2 separate regions of the Homo sapiens genome follow, and region 2 is linked to region 1. Evidence: promoter capture Hi-C in 16 types of primary human blood cells and fetal thymus (Javierre and others, 2016). All regions are on one chromosome and are shown on one strand. The core of a region is centred on a gene start or on the middle of the fragment in contact, and the rest is flanking DNA. Distances in the headings are between cores, read along the strand shown. Region 1 holds the start of H4C2 (H4 clustered histone 2). Region 2 overlaps H3C8 (H3 clustered histone 8).

Region 1 (7,465 bases), core at 2,372-4,871:
ACCCACCACCACCTTGGGCCTTCTTCAGTCCTAACACTCATGCAGTCCTTGTTCAGAACAAAGATAATGTTGCTTAATTTGCAACCCCTAGACTATCCCCCAGATTTTCTAAAGAGAAACTGCACGCTGATTGCTTCAGGCAGTGGCAGGTCAAGGAATGAGATGGGGAATTGATTGTGTTAGCATTCTGGTGGGCTTAGTGGAGAGCCTGGAGACTTACATAGAAAATTCACACATCCTTTCATTCAACAAACCTCCATAAACTACCTGTTAAACGTCAGCCCTGTTCAAGGTGCTAGGGATACTTCTGGGACAAAACAAAGTCCCTACCTTCAAAAAATATATTCCAGTTGGGGGAGAGAGAACAAACACAAAATAAAATATATCTAGTTATATGTATTTTTTGTTAAATATATTATTACATATATAATTCTAGGTGGGGAAATGTTATATATATATGCTATTGAGGATAGTCAACTATATATATATATGCTAAATGAGCAGAAAAGCTTATTTTACAAGGGATGATTATGGGAGGTCTCTTTCGTAAGGTTGGTATTTGAGGAGAGGCTTGAATGAAATGAGATCTAGAGCCATTCAGATATCCAGGACAAGACCCTTCTAGGGAGAAAGAATAGATATAAAGGTGCTGATGCTGGAAATGCTTGGTCCATTCCAGAAACAGCAAGGTCAGTGAAGAGAAAGAACTGCGAAGAGAATGAGGTCAGAGGGTAGCCAGAGTACAGATCTAGTAGGTTGAGCAGCTCATCCTAGTTTGCTTGGAACTTTCTAAGTTTCAGCACTGTAAGTCTTACACCCTGAGAAACCCCTGAGAGTCAGGCAAACTGTAATGGTTGGTCATCTTACTTGTAGGCTATGATAAGGATGCTGGTTTTTATTATGAAGGTGATGGAAAGCCAGTGGAATCTTTTCAGCAGACAGTGGACATAATACCTTCAAAAAGGATCACTGTTGATGCTGGATAGAGAAAAAACTGTATGACAGGGGGATTAAAAGTGAAAACAAAGACCAGTTTGGGGTCACTGTGGTCATTCAGACAAACCGCCATGGCAGCTTGCTCCTAGAGAAGCAGCAAAGAAAACAATGAAAGGTATTCTGATTGATTTTCAACAGAGCTGACTGCATTGGGTGAAAGTTGTAAGAAGCTCAGGACAAACAATATTGCACAATTCCTGGCCCAAGCTGCTTGAAGAATGGAGTTCTATTGATTGACATGACAAATATCAGAGGAAGAACAGACTTGGTGTTTACGTATAAACATATTTTGGACAAGTTCGAGATGCCCATTATTCAATTAGATACATCAAATATGCAGTTGTATATGAGTCTAGAGATTTAAGGTCAGGGAGATGGTTTATAATTGCAAACACTTATTTAGAGACACAGTTTCACTCTTGTCTCCCAGGCCTAAGTGTAATAGCGCGATCTCAACTCACTGCAACTTCTGCCTCCCGAGTTCAAGCTATTCTCCTGTCTCACCCTCCCGAGTAGCTTGGATTACAGTCGCCCGCAACCATGCCCAGCTAATTTTTTTTTTTTTTTTAGTAGAGACGGGGTTTCACAATATTGGCCAGGCTGGTCTCGAACCCCTGACCCCAGGTGATCCACCAGGCTCAGCTTTCCAAAGTGCCGGGATTACAGGCGTGAGCCACCTTGCCGGGCCTATATTTCTTAAGCTCTATGTTTCGTTCTGAAGCTTGAAGTGGGTGGAAGCAAACTGATAGAATTTGGAGAGGTGGTTAGGCATCCCGGGAATGAGAAACAGCCCGAAGCTGCCACTATCACAGGCTTTGGCATTGCTAGAAGTTAACGTGGCACTTACAGCTAGGCCGTGGTGTTCTGTTGAACAAACTATTTGACAGAGCACAGAGCATGTAAGTGGTGAGGCCAGTTGAGTTAGCCAAGAAAAGAGGAGTCCAAGAACTGAGCCAGAGTACACCAGAGTATGTAGTGGAGTACAGCTTTCTCATTCTTTAGTAGGGCTGTGTAGAGAAATACTCTATTTTATGGATGTATAGATCACTCTAGTCCTTTCTGATGAAAACTTTACAGTTGCCACTCATTTACTATTACAAACAATGCTGCACTACATTATGTTTCAGTTTTTAGCCATCTCATCTGGTCTCAGCATTTATTTATCTGCTGATGACTCACACATTTTTATCTCCAGCTCAGACCTCTCACCCGAACTCACTTATTCAACTGCCTATTCACTATATCCTCCTGTCAGGAGAAGCTTGTTAGCAAAGTAACCAGAAAACAAAGTTGATTTTTTTTGCTGAAGTAGCCATCAATATATTTGTTACTAAATCAAAGATGCTGAATATTTGGCTGACTTCTAAAAATCTGGTCACCTAACTTTGACACTTCCTAGGTCGTACAGTTTGAAACTTTCACAATTAAATCAGTTTTGGAATTTACAATTTAAGGCAGGAATAGAAGACTATTGGGTTGACAGGTACAGTGAAGATGCAAGTCATCTGAGAATCTTACATCAGAGGGGGCTTCCATCTTATAGCTGCTGCCACGGACCTCGGAGTCAGAAGAAATTTGAGTCCTTATTTATAAAACAGACTCCCTTAGTCTACTAAGTGGGAATTTACGAACTGCGTAGGCAGCCTGCTTAGGGGAGCCTCCAGCCTGAGGACTGAAAATAGCAAAGCAGCTTTAACCGCCAGTCCTACTCCAGAGAAGGGGGAGGTGACGTCACTCAGCAGGACGCCAAGCTCAACTAGAAATGGAAGTAAAGGCTTCTGGCGCTACCGGCAGGGGGCGGTTAAGGACGGCAGGTGTTACCAGGGAAGCTAAAAGTACAGCTTTTGCTGACGTTAAGTCAGATACGCCTGGGAAAACAGACCTGACACCCATTTTAATCCACCTACTCAGTTCCAGGCAGCTAGCATCTTAGGCTCTCGTACAAATAACGCACAACTCGTTTTTAAAACTAAAAAGCTGAGCTACTCATTTATCGGACTCGCGCTGCACGTTAAGTTGCTTGACATGTCAAAACTATAGCATTGAAGTTTATAGCTCACTTATCTCGGAGACCTCGTTTACTTAGCTGATTTCTGCTTTAGCAGCCACTCAGACCAAACAACCTGGTCTCTCCCAACTGGTTTATAATAGTTCTACATACTAGGCAGAATAGCCGAGTAAAGCCATTGAGATGTTACCATCCGAAAGAATACAATCACAGCTCTTTCTGAGAGGGAGTGGGCGGCCCTGAAAAGGGCCATTGGAAGAAAACTGACGAAAAGATTAACCGCCGAAGCCGTACAGAGTGCGTCCTTGACGCTTGAGCGCGTAAACCACATCCATGGCAGTGACAGTCTTGCGCTTGGCGTGCTCCGTGTAGGTCACGGCGTCCCGGATCACGTTCTCCAGAAACACCTTGAGAACGCCACGAGTCTCCTCATAAATCAAACCGGAAATTCGCTTAACCCCACCACGCCTAGCAAGGCGCCGAATGGCCGGTTTGGTGATGCCTTGGATGTTATCCCGCAGCACTTTTCGGTGACGCTTGGCACCTCCCTTACCCAAACCTTTACCGCCTTTGCCGCGACCAGACATGTCTAACCAGCTGACAACAAAAACCAGGTACGCGAAAAGAAAGCAAGCCACGAGCATTTATACACGAACATCGGACCTTATTGAGAACTGAAAGCGGGAGCGAGGATAAGGAGGCGTTGCTGCCTCACTTTTTGCTCCGCCCCTCGAGGGGCAGTGACCTAAGGACTGCGAGGGAGAACACAATAGTTTCACTTTTTAATCCCTTTAGTTTTTCCCTCCCGTTTACGACACTACTATTTGAATCTGAATTTATACCCTCGACTGAGAATTTTAATAAGGGCTTATATTAAGGGCTTTCACTAATATGCCGGAGTGGTAAACTTTTTAAGTCTTTCAAGTGCTTGAAGACATATTGACTATTCAAAGGTACTTAAAAGAGCAGGCGTGAAAAGATCACTCTGGCCTTATGTTTTCTTGAAAGCTGACCTGTTTCTTAGAAGCAGTAGGTGAAATTCTCATATGAAAGATGTTCTCACTGTAGTTTAAAAAAAGCAACATTCTTCTCAAGGATAGGAGGCTGAGGCCAAGAGAATTCTGTACAAACCTTGCACTAGCCCTTGCTGGGCGCTTCTCTACACAGTTATATATTCTAGCCTAAATCCCTTTGCTTTAGCGCATTTTTACATTTTACTAATTGTCCAATTCATTATATAAGTAGCTAACTGCTTTTTTTGGGCTTTCATTACCTTATGAGAGCACCTGTGTCACGTAAAACCTGTGTTAAATAAATGCATATACCTTTCTCCTGTTAATCCATTTTACATTAATTTAATTTGCTGGTCCAGCCAGAGCCCTAAGAGGATGGGAGTGGAGTTTTGCTATCCTTCACACTGTACTGTCTCATTCAGAAGAGGGTGATAGCTCATTGCAACCGTGCCTTCATCTGTAAATCGGGTTATGATGATACTCAGGGGACTTTTAATTAGCTAATGTGAACGAGGCATGAGAAGAGACTGTGGAAAAGAAATAAATATTACATAATATGGTTTAATTTTAGATGTTACTACTTAAAAAAATCTGCTCAGAGTTGGGATATTGTCCTGAACTCTCATTTTCGTGTTTTTACTCCCAACACTATATTGCTAGCAGCAACTATGTATGTATTAGTAAGGATTGTTTTTTTAAAATCACAGCCTGTAATAACGTACAAGGTGTTGACAGATTCCGTTTAGCTTTTCATATGTGACATGTTAAAATTGTCCGAAAATATTCCTTTGTTCTCTTTTCCAAGGTGCAATACAATAGCAGCATTCGTGCTTTCCTATAGCCAAGTCTGGAGTGTAGTTCAACTCTCCATACACGCTTCTCACTGTTGTTTTAAATTTCCTGAAAACATTCTTAAATCACTTCTATTGGAAAAACTGCAAGGGCTACTGCTAAATTTTTAAGTCTGAAAAATGCACCCCAAACTTGACTTCTTTCTCTGAGAATCTTAGCCATCTCACCCAAATCTAACAAACCAAAACTGATTTTAGACTTCAACAGCATTAGCTGTAAACTTCAGCCTGCAGCATAACATCACTTTGTTGTGACTGGGCAGGAAAAACCCTGTTAAACTGTTTCAGGCGCGTCCGTGTGAAGAGACCATCAAACAGGGTTTGTGTGAGCAACAAGGCTGTTTATTCTACCTGGGTGCAGGCGGGCTGAGTCCGAAAAGAGTCAGCGAAGGGAGATGGGGTGGGTCCGTTTTATAAGATTTGGGTAGATAGTGGAAAATTACAGTCAAAGGGGGTTGTTCTCTGGCTGGCAGGGGTGGGGGTCACAAGGTGCTCAGTGGGGGAGCTTTTGAGTCAGGATGAGCCAGGAGAAGGAATTTCACAAGGTAATGTCATCAGTTAAGGCAGGAACAGGGCATTTTCACTTCTTTTGTGTTTCTTCAGTTACTTCAGGCCATCTAGAGGCATACGTGCAGTTCACAGGGGATATGATGGCTTAGCTTCGGCTCAGAGGCCTGACAAACTGAACAACTGGGAACAAACAACATTTAATGCACACAATCTCTATCTTGTAGGGAGGCAAAATTTTACCTCTACTCTGTTAGGGTCTCCAGCTGGACCTGATAATTCATTTGCCATAAAACAGATTAGCAGAATGAAAGCATACAAATGTATTTAATGTAAATTTTATGGGACAGGAGAACCCTCATAAAAAAGTGAAGCCCCAAAGAAATGGCAAAAGCTAAATGCTTTCACATTAAGTTAAAGAGAGGCAATTGTGGGAAAGTAAACCATATGAGGAGATTAAAGGAATATATGATTATTTTAACAAGGTTTGTTTGTGTATAGAAGTCTCTCGGCTATGACTCCCTGCTGTGTTTGTGCAGAATTATCTCATCTATGCCTCTGGGCTGAAGAATATGTCTTTTCACCTGGTACAAGCAGAGCATTTTTCACATTGGAACTTTTATCTCCTGTTTTCAGAAAGAAAAGTTTAGAAGAATTCCCTTCTTGAATGCTGTTTTTGAAGTGCCTTTAGCTCAAAAGAATCCTGATCCCACAGTGGTCTATTTTTGGATGGTATATTCTGCAAACAACACCCCCTTTTTGTCTCCAATCTCTCCTTAATTACTCCTCTAATACAAAACAATAGATTCTTAATATAATATTAAAATGTTTGCACTACTCACAAATACAAAATGCTCAATAAATTTTCTTTCACAAATGAGAATTTCATCCATTCGTTAATTTTTAAATATCAACTGTCAATGAAGAGTTACAGCAGAATCCTTGTTCTGTTGAGGAGGGGGCAAAGAATGTAAGTGAGGGAGTGGAAAATAGCTGGACTGAGCTACCACCCCCTGTCCATCTGATCCTCAGACAGTAATGTAACTTTATTCTTTTATGCTATTCGTCAGACCCAGTACCTCCAACACATTTGTTTCCTACAGATAAAGAAAATATAAAAAGTCAAGCGCTATACATCAGATCCAGCACATCTATAACTGGAAAAAAAATACTTGACCTTCAGCTGGGCCCAGAGCTTGTGAGTAGTCACCTTGGCATAGACCAAGTCCATTGGCATCTCTAACATATCTATACTGTCTGTGGATAACAAATGTCTATGCCAGTTAGAGTCGCTTGTATAAGAGTCAAGAAAAACGAATCATAAAACAAACTGACATATTCATTTTCATAATTTTTAAAATGCAAATATTACTTTATAAACCAAAAACTGCCTTATTAAAAGCTGGAACACAAATGAATTTAAGTAAACGATGCAATTCAAATTTAATCTTTTGTGTGTGTGATTTGTTGTTGTTGACAGTTGGTCAGGCGATTTTAGTATGGTACATCAGTTTACATTCTAGATGTAGGCCAAGAAAGAATGTTAGGTGTAAAAAATATTTATTGTAAAAAAGAATGTGAGGCAAGGTCTTTGGAATTAGTAGTTTTAATGTTGGACATTCTGTGGTTGTTCTAAAGTTAGTCTGTAAAATGTGATGTAAAAGCTATATGATAAAAAAATACAAAATATAAAAATTTTAAAGTAAATATTACTTTTGTTTGCGTACAGTATTCCCATCCCTCTAAATTTTCTTCCAGTACTCAATCCCCAACCTCCAAAACCGAAAAGCAAGATCAACAGAAAGAAAATGGTTAAAACTTGTAAATTCTAGATTTTAATAACTACAGGCAAGAAGTACTGAAAAAAAGAATGTGGCATGTCATGGTGCATAGTCCTAGAGGAGACAAAGCAATGCAACCAGATAGACTATTTACAAGCAAAGCCACACATATAAAAATTCATATATAAGGGATTAAATTATGCTTGGTCGACAGACTGACAGATTTAAAGTGGGTAGCTAGCTATGGATAAAATGAGAGCCAGTTAGATCCCTGCCTCACATTTTGCACCAGAATAAATTTCAGGTTAA
Region 2 (7,259 bases), core at 3,989-6,488, 240 kb after region 1:
GCCTGTAATCCCAGCACGTTGGGAGGCCAAGGTGGGGAGATCACCTGAGGTCAGGAGTTCAAGACCAACCTGGCCAACATGGCGAAACCACATCTCTACTAAAAAAAAAAATACAAAACTTAGCCAGGCGTGCAGGCACCTGTATTCCCAGCTACTTGGGAGGCTGAGGCAGGGAGAAGTGCTTGAACCTGGGAGGCGGAGGTTACAGTGAGCCGAGATCCTGCCACTGCACTCCAGCCTGGGCAACAGAGTGAGACTCTGTCTCAAAAAAAAAAAAAAAAAAAAAAGAAGGCAGGGCGCGGTGGCTCACTCCTGTAATCCCAGCACTTTGGGAGGCCAAGGTGGGTGGATCACCTGAGGTCAGGAGTTGGAAACAAGCCTGACTAACATGGCAAAACCCCATCTCTACTAAAGATACAAAAATTAGCTGGACATTGTGGCACATGCCTGTAATCCCAGCTACTCAGGAGGCTGAGGCAGGAGAATCACTTGAACCCGGGAGGCGGAGGTTGCAGAGAGCCGAGATCGTGCCATTGCACTCCAGCCTGGGCAACAAGAACGAAACTCCGTCTCAAAAAAAAAAAGTATAAATCAGTACTGAGTTACCTGGAAATTCCAGCTTAAGAAAAACAAAGGCCCTGGTTTTATGTAGTTGGCTATCAGAACAATGTCCATAGCCCAAATATGCACCCAACTCAGGATCCATGAATCAATGTTTCTTCTCTCTGGTATGATCTTCCTACAGCTGTATAAAGAACTCACTCTCTTCTCTGCTCAGTCTTGTCAGGACCAAGAAAAATCTTCGCCTTCACCCTCTGAAGTTTTTCTCAAAAATCAATTACCAAAAAACAGATTAATAGGAGAGAAAGGCACACAAGTTTATTAACATGCAGGAGGGAGAACCACAGAGTAATTACCCCAACCCCAGCAGGGGGTACAGAAGCTTAAATGCCATCTTTAGGTTAAAGAATGGGGACTCAGAGCATGGCCAAAAACAGGTTAGGGTGGTCAATCATGCAAGACAGGTTATGGGAGGGCTTTGCTAACAAAGGTGGTCTTGTTATGTAGATGAAAACTCATAGGTAACAGCCCTCAAGAAGAATACATATATAGTAAATGTTTCTTTCAGACCTTTAAAGGTGTCAGACTCAGATTTTTTTTTTTTTTTTGAGAGGGAGTCTCGCGCTGTTGCACAGGCTGGAGTGCAATGGCACAATCTCGGCTCACTGCAACCTCCGCCTCCTGGGTTCAAGCAATTCTCCTGCCTCAGCCGCCTGACTAGCGGGGATTACAGACGCCCACCACCATGCCCAGCTAATTTTTGTGTGTTTAGTAGAGACGGGGTTTCGCTACATTGGCCCAGGCTGGTCTCTAACTCCTGACCTCAAATCTGCCTGCCTCGGCCTCCCAAAATGCTGGGATTACAGGCGTGAGCCACTGCGCCCAGCCTGGTGTCAGACACTTAATCTTTCCTAGATTGGACAAGGTAAAGCCTCAGAAAAAAACCCTGGCAGCACCAAAGCAGGTTTTCTCTACAGATGCACATCTCCACAAAAGGCAGCTCTGCAGGGCAACTTCTGTTTGCAGACCCTCCAAAGAGCCATCTCAAAATATGTCAAAGAAGTATACTTGGGGATGAAATAGTTGATTTCCTTCAGCCTTGTTGGCCTAAAAGAAAGATGCAGAGGCACAAATCATAACTTAAAGAATTTATGGCCGGGCGCGGTGGCTAACGCCTGTAATCCCAGCACTTTGGGAGGCCAAGGAGGGTGGATCACGAGGTCAGGAGATGGAGACCATTCTGGCCAACATGGTGAAACCCCGTCTCTACTAAAAATACAAAAATTAGCCAGGTATGGGGGCATGCGCCTGTAGTCCCAGCTACTCAGGAGGCTAAGGCAGGAGAATCACTTGAACCCAGGAGGCAGAGGTGGCAGTGAGCCGAGATCGCACCACTGCACACCAGCCTGGGTGACAGAGCAAGACTCCGTCTCAAAAAAAAAAAAGAATTGGCGCCAGGAACGGTGGCTCATGCCTGTAATCCCAGCACTTTGGGAGGCCGAGGCGGGAGGATCACAAGGTCAGGAGATGGAGACTCATCCTGGCTAACATGGTGAAACCCTGTCTCTACTAAAAATACCAAAAAATTAGCCGGGCATGGTGGCGGGCACTGTAGTCCCAGCTACTGTGGAGGCTGAGGCAGGAGAATGGCGTTAACCCAGTGAGCCAAGATCACACCAGCCTGGGTGACAGAGCAAGACTCTGTCTCAAAAAAAAAAAAAAAAAAAAGAATTTACTTGAGCCAAAGTCAGCACAGCAGCTCAGAAATCTCAGGCCCAAGTAATCTTGGATATGAGCTCCACTGGCCTTTGTTAAAAATAGGTTTTTAAAGGCAAAAAAGGGGGGACAGAAGGTGGGCTGATACAAAATTTTTTGTCAGGAATTTTCCTTGGTTTACAGAAATAGCATTAATTAGTTATTGGCTATACATTGTAAAGCTACAGGGTGTGGGTTACAGTGTGGGATGTGGCATTATTAGATAAACTTATAGCTACTTATAACAATAACAAGCAGTATCTAGAGATGAATACATAGCTCAAAGAGGGGAGTAGGTTGTGATTGCTGTCTCATTTTAATGTTACTGTGGGCCTGATAATTTAAAATGACTCCCATTCCTCAGATGAAAGTTATTTTCTTGGCCTGGTGTGGTAGCTCAGGTCTGGTAGCCCCAGCACTTTTGGAGGCCAAAGTGAGAGGATCCCTTGAGCACAAGAGTTTGAGACTTGCCTGAGCAACATAGTGAAGCCTCGTCTGTACAAAAAAAAAAAAAAGTTATTTTCTTTTCCCAGTCTTATCTCAGTTGTGAGTTCTTCCCCATCCACCATTTTTAAAATTACAGCTGTCTACCACATTCCCTCCTGTCCTCTGGCAGTCATTCCCTTTATCCATTTTAACTTTTCTACGTCTTTTTTATATAAGAATATACTAAACTCTTTTTTTTTTTTTTTTTTGAGACAGAGTCTCACTCTGTCGCCCAGACTGGAGGGCAGTGGTATGATCTCGGCTCACTGCAACCTCCACCTCCCAGGTACAAACGATTCTCATGCCTCAGCCTTCAGAGCAGCTGGGACTACAGGTACGTGCAACCATGCATGGCTAATTTTTTGGTATTTTTTAAGTAGAGATGGAGTTTCGCCATGTTGGCCAAACTGGTCTCGAACTCCTGACCTCAAGTGATCTGCCCACCTGGGCCTCACAGGCCATAGACTTTGTGTAACTTGTGTTTCTTTCTCCTAGATGCATCTTCAACCTTGGCAAAAATAAACCTGTGAATCAGTGGAGATCTGCTCGGTCACTTTTTGGTTTACACTATTGGGGAGAACAAAAGAAGTACAGAAAAGAGCTTTCACTCTTATGGGCCTGGTGATGCACCAGAAGATTCTATAAAGCAAGCTTTACTAACTACCCTTTATCTATGTTTGCTTTCCCCAACATTGCCGCCCCTGGACACTCAAAGTACTTCTCCTTCGTCTTCTAAATTATCTAAAAATTCACTGTTCTTTGTTGAAGACACTACACAAAAGCTGGAATTCAAAGCCACCTCAATGTGTACTCATTCCCTAGGTGTCATTCATGTATATGTAATATATATGTTAATACACTTCTGCTTGTTTTTCATTTGTGAATCTGTCTTTTGTTACATGGGTTTGTTTCAACTAAGAACCTGTGTGAGGTGGGAATTGAAGGGAAAATTATTCTGCCCTTTCTCCACCTTCATTTCCTACTGTCCCCTGCTCATTCCCCATAGTCACCATGGTGCCTCAGGAGTCTCCCTCCTTTTCTCCCTGAACACATCCGCACAGGTTGCTTCCTCACCTTTCAGCTCTTTGCTGAAATATTATCTTCTTAGTGGGGTCTTCATTGGTTGCCTTATCTAAATTTCAGCTTCCCATGACACTCCTTAGTCTTGCTCTATTTTTTTTTCCTTCTCACCATCTAACATATTACATAAACATATCTAGTTTATTTTCTGTCTATTCCAGACTCAAATGTAAATTCCATGAAAGCAAAAATTTTGTGTTTTGTTCTCTGGGTGTATTTCCAATGCACAGACCAGCATCTGGTACATTGTAAATTCTCAACCAGTGTTGTTTGCAGTAAATAAAAATCAATGTTGAAGAAATATGTCAACCAAAATGGATCATATTAAATTTTTAAAAAAGAAATACTATTTGTTATAAAAGTAATGATGGCATCATAATTTATTTTTGTTTTTATTTTTGAGATGGAGTCTCGCTCTGTCACCAGGCTGGAGTGTAGTGGCATGATCTTGGCTCACTACAACCTCCGCCTCCCAGGTTCAAGAGATTTTCCTACCTCAGCCTCCCCAGTAGCTGGGATTACAGGCGTGCACCACCAGGCCCGGTCCAGCTAATTTTTATATTTTTAGTAGAGATGGGGTTTCACCAAGTTGGCCAGGTTTGTCAAGAATTAACCTCATGTGATCCTCCCACATCGGCCTCCCAAAGTGCTGGGATTACAGGAGTGAGCCAAGGCACCTGGTCCATAATAAGGTGTTAAATAGCAGATAACATATATAAAATAGATGAAATGATATTGAAATTGTCATTGCAACATTGTAACTGAGACAAAGAGATCTGACCTAACCAACTCCATCTTGCTTCTAACCTTCAAGCTGTCCTTGTTCACTCCTGGGTGTAGGCTGAACTACCTTTGGGAGGAACTTAGTTTATAGTTTAAAACTAATATGATAACAGCCCTTTCCCAAAACAAACCTCCTTGCCTGGGGACTAGACTGCCTTTGTAGGACTAACAAATTACTCACAAGATTAGAAATTATGGTTTAGGGGTAGGTCGTAATGGCTCACGCCTGTAATCCCAACATTTTGGGAGGCGAAAGCGGGTGGATCACTTGAGGTCCAGAGTTCGAGACCAGCCTGGCCAATATGAGGAAACCTCGTCTCTACTAAAACTACAAAAATTGGCTGGGCATGGTGGCGCGCGCCTGTAATCCCAGCTGCTTGGGAGGCTGAACAGGAGAATCGCTCGAACCTGGGAGGCAGAGTTTACAGTCTCCATCCTGGGCAACGCAGTGAGACTGTCTCAAAGAAAAAAAAAAACACACACATTATGGTTTAGGAGTCCTGCAGCTGGAACCTACAAGATTCTGACCCCACGTAAACTGCTCCTAAGATCAGTGCTTGAGATATTTTGCAGACCTGATGGATCAGTTGGCCCCACCCAGATTGGTAAACTGACTCATCCGATCTTGTGGCCTCCACCCAGAAACTGACTCAGCCCAAGGAGACACCTTCAGCTCCCTATAATGACATCTCTGACCTGACCAATCAGGACTCCTGGTTCATCGGCTTCCCCCCCATCTGGAATGCTGGGGAGACTGATTTGAGTAACAATAAAACTACGGTCTCCCGCACAGCTGGCTCGGCGTGAATTACTTTCTCTATTGCAATTCCCTGCCTAGATAAATCAGCTTTGTCTAGGCAGTGGGCAAGGTGAACCCATTAGGCAGTTTCATTATTTGCTTTACAAAAATCAATAGATAAAACACTTAGCCAATGTTGTTATTGAAGCTGGATGAGAGGAACATAGGTTTTATTAAACTATTATCTCCTTTCCCATATATTCTGGAATGTCAAATAAGTTTTTAAAATAAAAGCAATATGTGAAAAAAAATGACAAGTTGCTAAATTAATAAAGATCATAAAGAAGGATCTGCTGAATACCCAAACAGGGCCTTGTGCTAATCTGTAAAGGAAGGGTTCTATATGAAAACATATCTTGGTTGTATGCCAAGCAGCCCAGGATGGTATGTGTTCCTCCTTGTAACATCCCTAAAAACCTGATACTTCCAATCACTAAAAGGACCTCGGTGGTTCAAAAAAACAAAAAACAAAACAAAACAAAAAAGAAAAAACTTACATTAGTGTTGCCCTAAGAAATTCTTATAAAAGCCAGGTGTTGAAAGATAGTCAAGCAAGCCAGAAAGTCTTTAGAGACCAGTATATTCTCTCTGAAGGCAAACTACAAGGAAACTGATTCAATTAGAAAACTGCTAAGCCTAGAGTCAAACCAGAGCTAATAAGAGTATTAAAATTTATGTAGCAAGGAGTCTCAGCCCCAGCTGTTAGAAGCACCTGAATTTTAATAATTACCATTCCCTGGGCCCACTCTAGATTGCTATTAGTCTCATTGAACCCCAGGTAAAGATTTTTCTAAAGCCTTCCCATGTGACTGTAATGTTACATTGAGAAAACTGATCTGTAAAGAAATCAAACTATTTTAGGGGATTGTTCTGTGCACTTGCTTTAGAGAACATTTCATAGAATATTTCATTCTGTAACATAAATAAACATGCATTTTGCAAAAGCTCACTCCTTGTAAGAGTTCACAGGCAGGATGCCTTTACTGATGAGACCAAAACCAACAACCTAGGCTTCCTAAATCAGTGTTCATGAGAATCATCTGAGGTATATGCAGATTGACTCCAGCCCTAGATGGGGATTGAAACAAGCTCCCATGTAATGCCCTGGGAGCTTCTAACAAGTTCCCACGTAATGCCCATGCTGCCAGTAATGTAGAGGCCAATCTGGCTTTCGTTTCTGCCGCCAATTTCTAATATTGAATTAAAAAATGGATCATTTCACAGAAAAACCAAGAACTGTTTAAAAAAAGGGGGAATTGTGGAAATAGCTGCTTCAGACACGAAAAAGCAGCAACCAAGGATATCCCTACCTACTCTCAACTGCCAATGCTCATACCTGTAAAGTTTTAAAAGGGATTAACCAGAAATACACAACGAAAAAAAATCCCATCTATAATGGGTGTAAGTAGACAACGCGACTAACGCTTGAGACAATGTATATAAACGCCCCCAGGTGGCCCCTTCCACTACCAAATCGAAGCTCCAAACCCCTAAAAGCCAGTTTAGAAAAGGACGCTGACAATCTGGCACTTTCGGGAAAAAGCACGGGAACAAATATAGCAAGCTTACCATTAACTTTAGCCAATCAAATGAGGACTTAAGTACTAAAACCAATGTTTAGTTTCAAAGATTTGATTAGTTAATCACAGCTATTTTCGGGTGAAAGTAGGCGGCTCTTAAAAGAGCCTTTTTAAGTTGGATAGAATTACTGCCCGGAAACCTCTACGCTCTCTCCCCACGAATGCGGCGAGCGAGCTGAATGTCCTTGGGCATGATAGTCACTCGCTTAGCATGG

The links. Contacts are between HindIII fragments. The CHiCAGO score rates a contact against its expected background, and 5 or more counts as called.
Region 2: a contact is called between a fragment that was not itself captured here and the fragment with the promoter of H4C2 in region 1, in 1 of 17 cell types (neutrophils). The highest score is 9.2, in neutrophils.

What each region holds. Positions count from the first base shown.
Region 1 is chr6:26,023,662-26,031,126 of GRCh38, forward strand. It overlaps H4C2 (H4 clustered histone 2), which reads right to left and starts at 3,622. Exons shown (of 1, transcript NM_003544.3): 1 at 3,235-3,622. The coding sequence starts at 3,591. The coding sequence ends at 3,280. RefSeq lists enhancers at 3,235-3,284, 3,315-3,374, 3,395-3,714, 3,691-4,276, 4,277-4,861 and 2 more. The HindIII fragment of the contact is 5,368 bases long and covers 2,256-7,465 here.
Region 2 is chr6:26,263,788-26,271,046 of GRCh38, forward strand. H3C8 (H3 clustered histone 8) reads right to left here. Exons shown (of 1, transcript NM_003534.3): 1 at 7,131-7,259. The coding sequence ends at 7,187. Among named protein-coding and RNA genes, the nearest start is that of H3C8, 4.0 kb to the right of the region's middle. RefSeq lists enhancers at 5,158-5,754, 6,528-6,667. The HindIII fragment of the contact is 3,575 bases long and covers 3,452-7,026 here.